Regions from separate parts of the Homo sapiens genome. Here regions 2 and 3 are each linked to region 1. The links are contacts of gene promoters, found by promoter capture Hi-C in blood cells and fetal thymus (Javierre and others, 2016). All regions are on one chromosome and are shown on one strand. The core of a region is centred on a gene start or on the middle of the fragment in contact, and the rest is flanking DNA. Distances in the headings are between cores, read along the strand shown.

Region 1 (3,682 bases), core at 578-3,077:
ACCCAGGCTGGAGTGCGGTGGCACAATCAATGTCCACTGCAGCCTCAGCCTCCTGGGCTGAAGGGATCCTCCTGCCTCAGCCTCCCATGTAGGTGGGAACACAGGTGCATGTCACCAAACATGGTTAATTTTAAAATTTTTTTGTAGAGATGGGGTCTCACTTTGTTGCCCACTCCTAGGCTCAGGTGATCATCTTGCCCCGGCCTCCCAAAGTGTTGGGATTACAGGCGTGAACCACTGCACCTGGCCATAATTTTTTCTTTTCTTTTCTGCTATCAAAATTTTTTGCCACCTCAAGGTATTTAAAAAGCAATTTAAAATGTTAATTACGAGATTGTGAAGCAACATGAAAAATGTTGAGTCAATGTCAGTTGTTTAAAAAAAAGGAAGTCACAGAATGACAGATAATAAAAACAATGTCTTTATCTGTATGAGGATCAGAAGGAAAATGTGAAAAAGGGAAAAGCTTATGATTCAATATGTAAAGAACTGGCTTAAATACATACATGCGGATGTTAATCACATATATATCTTGGAAATTATACAACACAATTTGTTACCCATTTTCACATAAATGTATTTAAATACCATTGTTTTAAAACATCTCAAATCTTAAGTCAGCCATGTAAATCTTGAAAAAGCAAATGCCAACCTTAAAATTATCTAATCTTTTAAAAGATAATTTCATATTTTTCACCTATTTATACATTTGCTTAGTGCCTGCTATATGTTAAGCACTATCCCAGTTACTGATTTGGATTTTTAATTTTAGACAAGGAACTCTAACTCCCAGAATTCTGCTGACTAAATCATTTGTTTTTTGTTCAACAAGTTGGACTAAGAAATACTAATTAGATGCTACTCCCTTTCCACTACTAGGCCATAATTATCTTGAACTCAGAGATACCAAACAATGATGGTTATTCCTGTTGGGTGGTTTCATTCTTTCTCTAACCTGCCAGACCTAGGTTTGGAGCGATGTTTATGAAAGTTGTGGATGATACCGCAGAACATCAGTAACCAATAAGGAGTCCGGTCCTAACAGCAGGGAGGGGCCCCCGAGAGTAGGGAAAACGGAAGGAGCGGCTCTTGCCCAGGCTATGCAGGAAGATGTCACGGCTGGACACCGGTCATTCCAATGGTCTCTTCTCAAGAACTTTTCAGAAAGTAGGCTCCTCTCGGAATAGGGGAAGATGAGTCTGTTAAACAGTGAGGTTTTTTGAAAAGCACGGGTTGATACTAACACGAATAAGCAGAATAAACAGTCCTTGCAAACTCCAGTGTGGGGTGGAGATGGGGGCGGAATAAACAGCGCCCGAATTGTCTCGGATGGAGAGACATCCCCAACTGGTGGAGCGCGGACGGGAGCGGAGAAGAGTGGGGAGCGCGGCCGAGGGCACGCACGGGCTCCGCGGGAGGGAAAGCCGGGCCGGGCGGCTCACCCGGGGCGGAGCTTCGCGGCCAGAGCGCGGCCGAGGCGAGGGGGTGCCCGACGCCAACGAGAAGGCCGCGTCCCGTCGCACCCCGCCCATCCCTGGTGCTGGCAAGGAATAAGGCAGGGCAGGAAAGCAGGAAGAAGTCCTCACACAGGTCCCAAAGCAACAAGTGCTCGCGGCGGCTCCTCAACAGACCGCTGGGTTGGGGCTGCAAAACGAGGCCCGGCACGGCAGCCTCCCGGCCTTCCCTCTCTCAACCCCTACCCCACCGCACTCACTCTGCCACACGACGCTCTTTAGCCCCCTCTCTGCCACCGGCGGCGCCATCTTCCCGACACTGCGGAGCAGCAGCCACCACCTTCCACTCCCAACCTACTTTGGCCGCAGAAGCGGCGTTGGGGTGGCCCCGCCCCTTGCTGCAGGGGAATGCCCCACCCCCTCTAGCAGACCGCGCCCTCCGGTGACGTCACGCGCGTCAGCAAGGGAATTTCCGCCCACTCCCGGACGGAGGCTGCGCAGTACAGGTGGAACCTCCGTGGGAAGTCGGGAGCCCCCTAGCGGGAGGCTGCTGTCGCCCGAGGTTCGACGTCCTGTGGCCTAGGAACGCGAAGTGCCAAACCGATCGTGAGCCAAGGCCGTCTATGAAATTCCGAGTTCACACATACACGAAGACTGGAGGATCCTCCCCATTACAGAAGAACCCTTCACTTCGCAAGGCGATTCATAATAGACTTCACTCAGTAGCCAGCCCAACTACCCAATGGAAAATGTACTGTCCCCAAATGATTATTTCATTCATTTTTTCAAGGACACAGTAATTGCGTAGAACTGTGAGGTTCCCTCCAGTGTGCCAAGAACTGTGCTGGACTTTTAGGAAACTCAAAGAAATGAGAGATCAACTCTTTCCCCTGAATAATTTACAATCTAATTAAAGAGCACAATTCCTGGAATGCTGCAGGTAGTTAAAACTTAGTTTAAAAATTGAATGCCTTAATGATAAGATATACATAAATGAACCAACAAAAGAATAATCATTTATTAACAAATTTATGCAACAAATGTAGGGAGGGCCTGTTAATGCTTCAGAATCTACAATTATTGTTGAAAGTTGATTCACAGAGGAGGAGATCTGAGCTCAGAAAGTTTAGGTAGAGATCTGTTTACTGAGATGGTTCCTTTGGGACTTTAAATCAAAGTAATCAAACGTAAGTGAGATCAGTTTAGTTGCTAAGAGCCCTAACTGTGAGATAACCATGTGACATTGGCAGAAAGTAGGCTTTCCTAGAAGGATTTGCAAAGAACCAGTGGCTGTAAAGATTCAAATTGGTCACACAGGGAAGTAGAAGTGGTTAGATACTACTACTAATAATAATGTCTAATATTTACTGAGTGCTTACTTACCATATGCCAGGCACCATGCTAAGTAGATTACCTCACTGATCCTCAAAGCAACACTTACAACAAGGAAACTGAGGCTTAATGAAGTCAAGTAACTTGCCAAGGATGCACTTAGTGGTGGAGTGGGAACAAAGATCAGGCTTGGGCTACATGGAAAGCAATAGAGTAGTCTGTGGGGTAACCTGCAATTTTTAGGAGAGGAAAGGCAAATGAAGAATTAAGAACAGGCTGGGCATGGTGGCTCACACCTGTAATCCCAGCACTTTGGGAGGCCTAGGCAGGAGGACTGATAGAGGCCAGGAGTTTAAGACCAGCCTGGGCAACATAGCAAGACTGCTGTCTCCACCAAAAAAAAAAAAAAAATTAATAAAAAAGTTAGCTGGGCATGATGGCGCATGCTACCTGCAAGCTGAGGAGTCGTAGCTACTTGCGAGGCTGACGTAGGACGACTGCTTGAGCCTGGGAGTTCCAGGCTGCAGTGAGCTATGATCATGCAACTGTACTCCAGTTTGGGGAACAGAATGAGACCCTGTATCTAACAATAAAAAAGGCCATAAAATGGGTTCTGGCACAACCTATGGCTGAGTGGTTTTTCTGTTCAAGGCTTATATGAGAATAGAAGCTGGAGCCCTGACCTCCTTTAAACCTACTCTAAATTGATTCAGTTGCTCAATGTTTTAAACAAGTGCACATATGATTTCCCTCTCCCTTTTCATTTTAAGTTAGGTTCTGCTTAGTTTAGCAGGGTGAAGCCCCAATCCATAAGAAAAATATGTGCCAGGGAAAATTCACCCTTCTGAGGTGAAGCCCCTTGCTCTGAAGAGCCAAACCAAGAGGGAAGAGTGAGA
Region 2 (3,883 bases), core at 405-2,904, 150 kb before region 1:
TATGAAATACATTATAAAGTAATAAATCTCAAGGATAGGTATTCTGGTCCACTACCCTATTTTCCTTCTATAACAGCCCTACCAGGTAATTATTCAGTGTGTGTTTGAGCAGCAGGGAGAGAGAACGCACTACCTCTTGAGGTAGCATACTTCATTTTGAACATCTGCATCGAAAAGTTCTCTCTCATACTGAGGTAAAAACAAAATCGATCTTCTAAAGCAAACATCACAGACTAAATGCTGGAAAATAATGTTTTTTAATACAGTAAAACAAAAAAACTGAATTAGCCACTAACATTTAAAAATCAGATTTCATATAAAACTCAGCACTTCCAGCTTCTCTTTAAAAAACAGGAAGATGTGGACATAACGGATTTTCATTCCTGGCTGGCAACAATTAGTTGGAGTTGGGTAGCAGTTGCCCCCTTCACACTGGACATTATCTCTAAGTTCACCACAATTCCCACACTTATGTAGTTAGGAAAACTTTTTTTTTTTTTTTTTTGAGATGCAGTCTTGCTCTGTCGCCAGGCTGGAGCGCAGTGGCGTGATCTCAGCTCACTGCAACCTCCACCTCCTGGGTTCAAGCGATTCTCCTGCCTCAGCCTCCTGAGTAGCTGGGATTACAAGCGTGCGCCACCACACCCGGCTAATTTTTGTATTTTTAGTAGATACGGGGTTTCACCAGGAAGACTTCTGAAGAGGTAATTGAGTTTGGGACCTAGTCATTGATCTTGGGTCAAGGGCATATGGAACCAGACTAATCCTCTATCACAGACTAGCCCTTCATACAATGATATACAGAGGATATCACTGAAAGAAAATTCCTTAAAAGGGATTTTAAGGAAAACAAAGGAAAAGAAACAAAGGAAAAATTCTAGGGATTCAATAATGCATCTATATTTTACCTTAGTTATGGTAAAAAGACGTAAAACATACCTATCATTCAGCTCTTGAGCAATTGCTAAGTGCTTCAGATGATAATCAATGGCCTTTTCATAGTCTTGAAGTAAAGTATATGTATTTCCAAGACTGTAACAAGACTGTGCTTCTACAGCTCGGTCTTTAAGCTGTCGGGCCAACAGTAGTGTCTTCCTACAAGAAGAAATTAATTCTTATATAATGATCATTCTCAGTTTGGGCTTTAAGAATCACAAAACAAAACTCTCATTTTTCCTCTCTGCTGCTTTCTGCTGTCTTTAAATCTCTGAGAGCCTAATATTCATATCCCGTACTTTCTCCATTACTTTTAGACAAAATGAAAAGACGTTTTTGAAACACAGAAAGAAGATTCAAGACTTTTAGAATAAATTTGAGAATCCTAACAATTCATCAAAGTAAAGGAGTATTGAAACATAAAATCAAGAGGTTCTAGAGATTAACATAATATCTTTAACATTTAAAAAAACTTTCCCTTTAGTATTGGCAATAGCTAAAAGAGGCTTTTTTCCACATGACATCTGTTTTCAATCATACCGTCACCTTTGCATTGTCAAAATTTAAAATATTTAGGTAAAATTCTTATGTGTAGGCTATTAGTCACCACTTAGGTAAAATTCTTATGTATCGGGCATTAGTCACCAACTCATGAAAAATACTGAATACTACATCCAAACATTACCCAAATTCTACCTGTGGTATTGCCAGTGAGAAGCTAGCGTAGCAGTTAAGAGCATAGATCTTGGAGCTAGACTGGGTTTAAATCCCAACTTTGCCAATTACTAAGCTAAGGGCAAAGTCACTCAATCTCTCTGTATACCAGTCTCTTCTTATATAAAATGGGGGAAATATCTCGAAGGATTTTTGTGAGGATTAAATTAATATGTATAAAGTGCTTAGAATAGCATCTTGTGCATAGTAGTTGCTGTATAAATGTTAATGTGTTATTATCAGTGCTTAAACCTATAGATGCTTTTGGATTCAGTAATTTAAATGACCCTCCCATTATTTCTGTCAAATAGTATAATTACTTCATATCACTTATAACTATATGACAAATTACTATGCGGTAACGTGATAGCTTTTTTTAAGCAAACAAATCTAAAGTTACATATTTAATGATGATACCTTCAAATCTGTCACCTTGGGAGGCTACCTACTTATTCTAATGTTGCCTGTCTTTTCAAATATTTTTGAAAGACTTTTGGAATTGCTTTCAGATCCTGTGGCATAATGCTTTCTGGCATACCATTATTCTTTGATGGTACAGTTGATTTGTAAATGATCAGAAATCTTTCTGGAACCAAATTCAATTACTAACATAGGTTTACCAAACTACTGCTTTGTATCCGGAAGGATATGGATCTACATTGTTAGCCTTCTTGTTTGGCCCTGATAACAATTCCAGGCTGGGTGTGGTGGTTCACGCCTGTAATCCCAGCACTTTGGGAGGCTGAGGTGGGCGGATCACTTGAGGTCAGGAGTCCCAGACTAGCCTGGCCAACATGGCGAAACCCCGTCTCTACTAAAAATACAAAAATTAGCTGGGCGTGGTGGCAGACACCTGTAATCCCAGCTGCTCAGAAGCTGAGGCAGGAGAATCGCTTGAACCGGGGAGGCCGAGGTTGCAGTGCACCAAGATTGTGCCATTGCACTCCAGCCTGGGCGACAAGAGCAAAACTCCGTATTTAAAAAAAAAAAAAAAAAAAAAATCTAAAGAAGAGTTCTAAAAATATTTCTAACCAACGACTTGGAATATATATAAAGTTCTGAGTTCTAGCCTGCTTATTGGGAGGAAAAAAACTAAGTTTCATTACTTTATATTCATGCTTCTTTAGTCAAATAGCCACTATCCATTTTATAATAGAACCTTTCAGTATTTAACACAGATACACCATTTAATAATTAAGACTTCTCTATATCCCTTGGCTTTAAATATAGGAAATTTTTATATTTAAAATCAAAATATATACTCCTTCACATAGTACACAGTGATATATTTTATTTGGGAGGCTATTTCATATCTAACTAACCTAACCAACAAATATTAACCATTAGTTGATGTTTAAAGCAAAGTGGAATGCTATTTAATTTTTTTAGATAGGCCTAAAACAATTTTACCTTTTTTATGAAGATGACAAATTATCCAGAACTGTCTCATATTGGCTTCTTTAACAAAATACAAATCAATCACTGTGTCTTCGGTTTAGTCAAACTGCCTTCTACCCAAAATCTGTAAGAGGCTTCAATCCCCACTAACTAGGGAAAACTCAATCTAGAAAGCACAGATCAGGCAACTTGAAGCTGTCTAAACTTTCTATCATCTATGTCTCAAATCTACTGATAAGAGAGATCCTGCCACAGAAGAAGCTGGGATTGTAAATGCTTCAGGTAAGTGAATGGGGGACTCAGCTTACAGTGACAGTCAAATATAGGCAGAAAGAGGGTAAAGGGAGAACTGCTCAATAAGAGGGTGGGAAGGTAGAGAAAAAAATTCAGTGATCACTGGTATAGACTATAAATATTTTTGTTACAAGGCTTTCTTTTGGCCTCTCTTCTAACCCATAACTGAGTGAAATAAAGCATATACACAATATACACCACATATGCTAAACAGGTTTAAAAGATATTAAAGGTTGAAAACTTCATTTAAAAACAATTACTTTTAAAGATAAAAACCAATATTATAAAGGGGTCATACTGCTGCTATTAAATCTTATGTACAATAATATTTATTGAGCACTGTGTACCAGATACTGTGTTTAGTATATTATTTCATTCAATCCTCACAGCATTCCCCAAAATGAAGTATTGATATATTCTGTTACAGATAAGGAAATTGAGGCTTAGATGCCAAAAGTTCTGCTACAATCAGATTTTAAACCTAAAGCCTATGAATTAATGGGACTGAGTATTCATTTTACATTTATCTACAGAAATATTA
Region 3 (3,894 bases), core at 592-3,091, 190 kb after region 1:
ACTGCCCTCAAGAATTTTACAATCTAGTGAGGAAGACATGTTTAGACAGGTCATTAAAAAAACACAACCTAGCACCAAGCTATGTAGAACTCAGAGAAGCAATTAATTGAAGTTAATCAGTTTTCTGAATTTCAAAGGATGAAAATGATTTGGGACAAAGTGGGGTAAGTTGTTCTAGGAGAAATAAATTAAAAAAAAAAAAAGATTCAGAGGCAGGTTCGGGGGTGGGGATTTGGTAATGGATAAAGCTTCTTACCCTGCAGGACAGGGGGCAAAGACAGTGAGATGCATTTGGGGACTTTGAGATTTGTCATTTAGAGCACTGGATGAATGTTAATTTCATTGACTGAACATTGAAAGCAAGAGGAGGGCAGGTTGGGAATGGAAGAGATAATGAGTCTTTATGGGATCTGCTTGCAGTACATCTAGGGAGAGAGAGGCAGCCTTAGCTCATAAAAATGCATTGGCAATTGAAAATATACATTTGGGAATTGAGGTAATCGCTGATGGCTGAAGCCCAAAAGGTGGATAAGGATGAGTTACTCTGAAGAATATTTAAAGGGTAGGCAAAGAGGAGATCGTGAAGGTGCCTAAGAACAAGCAGTCAAGAGAAAAAGGAGATGAAGAAAGAGATGGCCTGGAAGCCCAGACGGTTTTAATCATGTAACATTCGTAGTTACAAAGTTCTATTGTGTGCCAGGCACTATGCTGGGTACTAGAGATGCAAATGAATAAGACATAGGGGCTTATAAAGGAATGGAGAAAAACAGAGATATGCAAACAGATCAACTAAAGTGTGTGTGTGTGGTATGTGAGTATGTGTGTGTGAGAGAGAGAAGAGAGAGAGAAAGAAAGAGAGAGAGCAATCTGTGATCCATGTAGGACAGAGGACCATTTCAAGAGAGTGCTGCAGAGCAGTCCCAGAGGATTTGGACTGAAAAGAAGCTACTGAATTGAAGGTCTAGGAGGTCATTGGTAATCTTGGCAAGAGAAGTCATCATAAAAGATAGTGACAAAGTAAGATGAAAAGTGACAAAGTAAGTGAAAAGATGACAGTGAAAAGTAAGATAGTGACAAAGTAATGTGGGTAAATAAAAATTATATTTTTATTGATGTTTTTCTGATTTTTTTGTCAGCGAATGAAAAGAGAGAGAGAATGGTGACCAGAGGAGGACAGTTCAATCTTTTTCAATAACATTCAGGAACTATCCAATATTTATTGAGTGTCTATTAGGTGCCAAGCACCTTAATAGGTCCTATGGATTTGAAATGCCGTCCCTGTCTTAGATCTCACGGTCTACTGGAGGACACAGAGAAGTAAGCAGGCAGTTGCAGTACAATGTAACACTGAGTGCTGTCTGTGTATGATGGTGAGTGGAGACTGCTGTGGGAGACTATAAAAGCTAACAGGGATAAGTAGTAGGTTTATGGAATGCCTTCTAGGGTAAGTGAAGCCTGAATTCAGGCCTTTAAGCTGAGGCCTGAATAATGAGCATGGGTGGGGAGCAGTTTCCAGGAAGGAGGTAGTGTCTGTGCAGAGGCTCAAAGGAAGAGAGACCATGTTGCAGAGGGAACTGAAATTAGTTCTGTCTGGCTGCAACTTAGAGTTGGGTACAGTGACAGGGGTTAACAAAGAGCCATTGAAGTTTTAAAGAAGAAGCATGATATATTCAGATTTACATTTTGTAAAGCTCTTCTACTTTATAAAATGGAAGATAGGAGACAGTCTGTTACTGTTTTTTAGACTCATGGTTTGATTATTAAACCCCTGATAGGAGTCATAGTCAAGGCAGGAAACAGATATCATATTCAATGTGTTTAAATGGGGAAAATTTAATGAAAGGACTCTTCACAGAGTTGACAGGGTAAGGGACCCACAGTCTGGTGAGAAGTTGAAAGGAAGAAGGGATAAATATCCTGATTTCTCTCACCTCCTACTTTCTGATCTCTTGGTGGTGCTTCCCATGATCCAAAACCAACCAAGGCCAGAGGGTAGAGGGGCTCGGAACATGCAGTTCATACAGGACAGACTCCTGGGGCACAAAGTAGGGCACTGAAAGGTAGAGAATGGTTGGAGGTAAGGGGATGGAAAGCCACTAGCACACAAAGGATACAGTCAGGGTTCACCATAGGAAGCTGAAACCACTCTGGATGTTTCAAAAAAAAAAAAAAAAAGGGATTTCATTCAGGCACTTCACTGCTTCTGAAATCTGTGGAAGGGCTGAAGGGGTTGAGGTCAGCAGACTGTCGAATTCAAAGTCACATGCTTTGTGGTAAACATTACTAGTGTTCACTAGTATCCGGTCCTCCTTGATTTCTGAGCATATGGGAGTTTACAGTTCCCAATTCCCTTGCGGTTAGTGGGGCCTTGTGATGAGGTCTAGCCAATAAAATGTGAGAAGTAACACGTCACTTCCAGGATGAAACAGTGAAAAGCCTTTGAGCAGTTCTCTAGACTACCTCTTCCCTGCCACAATAGTTATAGAGGAGACCTTGGGTTAAGATGTAGCAGCCACAAGATTGAAGCAGCCCAGATTTCTTAAGTCAGCACATGGAGAGCAACTGCCCACACCTGCAGGAAACATTTTGTCTGTGAGAAAGCAACTTTTATTATATGAAGCCACTGAGATTTTGGGGGATGCTTGTCACTACAGCATAAGTCTAGTTTATTCTGACTAACATACACTGCAGCTGGGATGGGAAGCTGACACTAGAACACTGCTACTGCTGCTGCCACCACCACTGGCTCACACCTGTCAAGACTATGAGGAGTCTGAATGCCACAGGCATGTCATCACACCTTGCTTGCAAGTGACACAGCAGTAAGAAGAGAGCCTCCATTTCACTTGCACCTGTGTTTTCATAAGGAAATTTATTTGGCAGGCCTTATTTGCACCCAAAAATTGAGTGGCAAAGGAGTCTGAGAAATGTAATTTTCAGCTTTCCAACTTCTTCAGATAGGATGGTGGAATGAATGTTGAGGCTAAGTATCTACTCCAGTACTTATAATTCAAGTTTCTTAAAGGCAGGGATGGTTTGCTGATCATCTTTGTATCTTTTCTAAATAGCCCAGTACCTAGTGGGTATTCAATACATGTTTCTTGAAATGACCTGAATTTATAGACCTATCCTAAGTGTGTTAACTCTCAGGTAAAACAACAGAGTGAATAGACATGTGCTAAGACTGCTTACTGCCAGAGGTGTGACAATTCTTACAGGTTTATTCAATTCCCTTGAAAAGCATTTACTACCCCTTAAAAATGCGTACACTCCCCCTTTACCTCTCCCCTACAAAAAGGATATTTAAGTCTCAACCCTCTGGTCTTTCTTTGAGTCTCATATTCGCAGGACTACTCTGTCCATGTGCACTGATAAATTTGTATGCCTTTTCTCCTGTTAATCTGTCTATTGTCAGTCATTTCAGCAAAGCTTCAGAAGGCAGAGGGGAAGCTTTCCCATCAATCTTATACCTACAATAATTTGGTAAGAAAGTAAGATATCTATGAAACCCATAGTTCTATAAGAGGTTGAAAAATGGAATGTTAGTAGGTTATATTTATGGCTGCATTCAGTAAGATATTGGAAACATAAGATGAACTCATGCAATAATTAGCAGGTTTGCAAGCATAAATTAAAAGGAATATAGAGAGTCCAGAAATTTGGAGCCTCAAGGGATGGGAAAAACTAACTGCTCTATACCTCAAAGAATAGGAAATAAGATTGAAAAAGCTCTTGAGCAACAAGGGCCCATTAAGACTCAGCCGTGAAACAAAGATTATATTTAGGGTGTGGTCTTCACATTTAAGTCTGATGTTCTCAAAGTAGCCTCCTTAAATTGAGAGGAAGAGAGGAGTGAAGAAGCAAAGAGATAATCAGGATTGAGAATTATCTCTA

The links. Contacts are between HindIII fragments. The CHiCAGO score rates a contact against its expected background, and 5 or more counts as called.
Region 2: a contact is called between a fragment that was not itself captured here and the fragment with the promoter of STXBP3 in region 1, in 1 of 17 cell types (fetal thymus). The highest score is 5.1, in fetal thymus.
Region 3: a contact is called between a fragment that was not itself captured here and the fragment with the promoter of STXBP3 in region 1, in 4 of 17 cell types (activated CD4 T cells, fetal thymus, non-activated CD4 T cells and 1 more). The highest score is 6.0, in activated CD4 T cells.

Annotation. Positions count from the first base shown.
Region 1 is chr1:108,744,819-108,748,500 of GRCh38, reverse strand. STXBP3 (syntaxin binding protein 3) reads right to left here and starts at 1,827. Exons shown (of 19, transcript NM_007269.4): 1 at 1,715-1,827. The coding sequence starts at 1,763. RefSeq lists a silencer at 1,326-1,445 and enhancers at 1,646-2,055, 1,578-2,148. The HindIII fragment of the contact is 6,658 bases long and covers 469-3,682 here.
Region 2 is chr1:108,899,002-108,902,884 of GRCh38, reverse strand. GPSM2 (G protein signaling modulator 2) reads right to left here. Exons shown (of 15, transcript NM_013296.5): 8 at 940-1,095. Among named protein-coding and RNA genes, the nearest start is that of GPSM2, 24 kb to the right of the region's middle. The HindIII fragment of the contact is 5,386 bases long and covers 1-3,883 here.
Region 3 is chr1:108,555,109-108,559,002 of GRCh38, reverse strand. No RefSeq gene overlaps it. Among named protein-coding and RNA genes, the nearest start is that of EEIG2, 3.0 kb to the left of the region's middle. The HindIII fragment of the contact is 3,181 bases long and covers 251-3,431 here.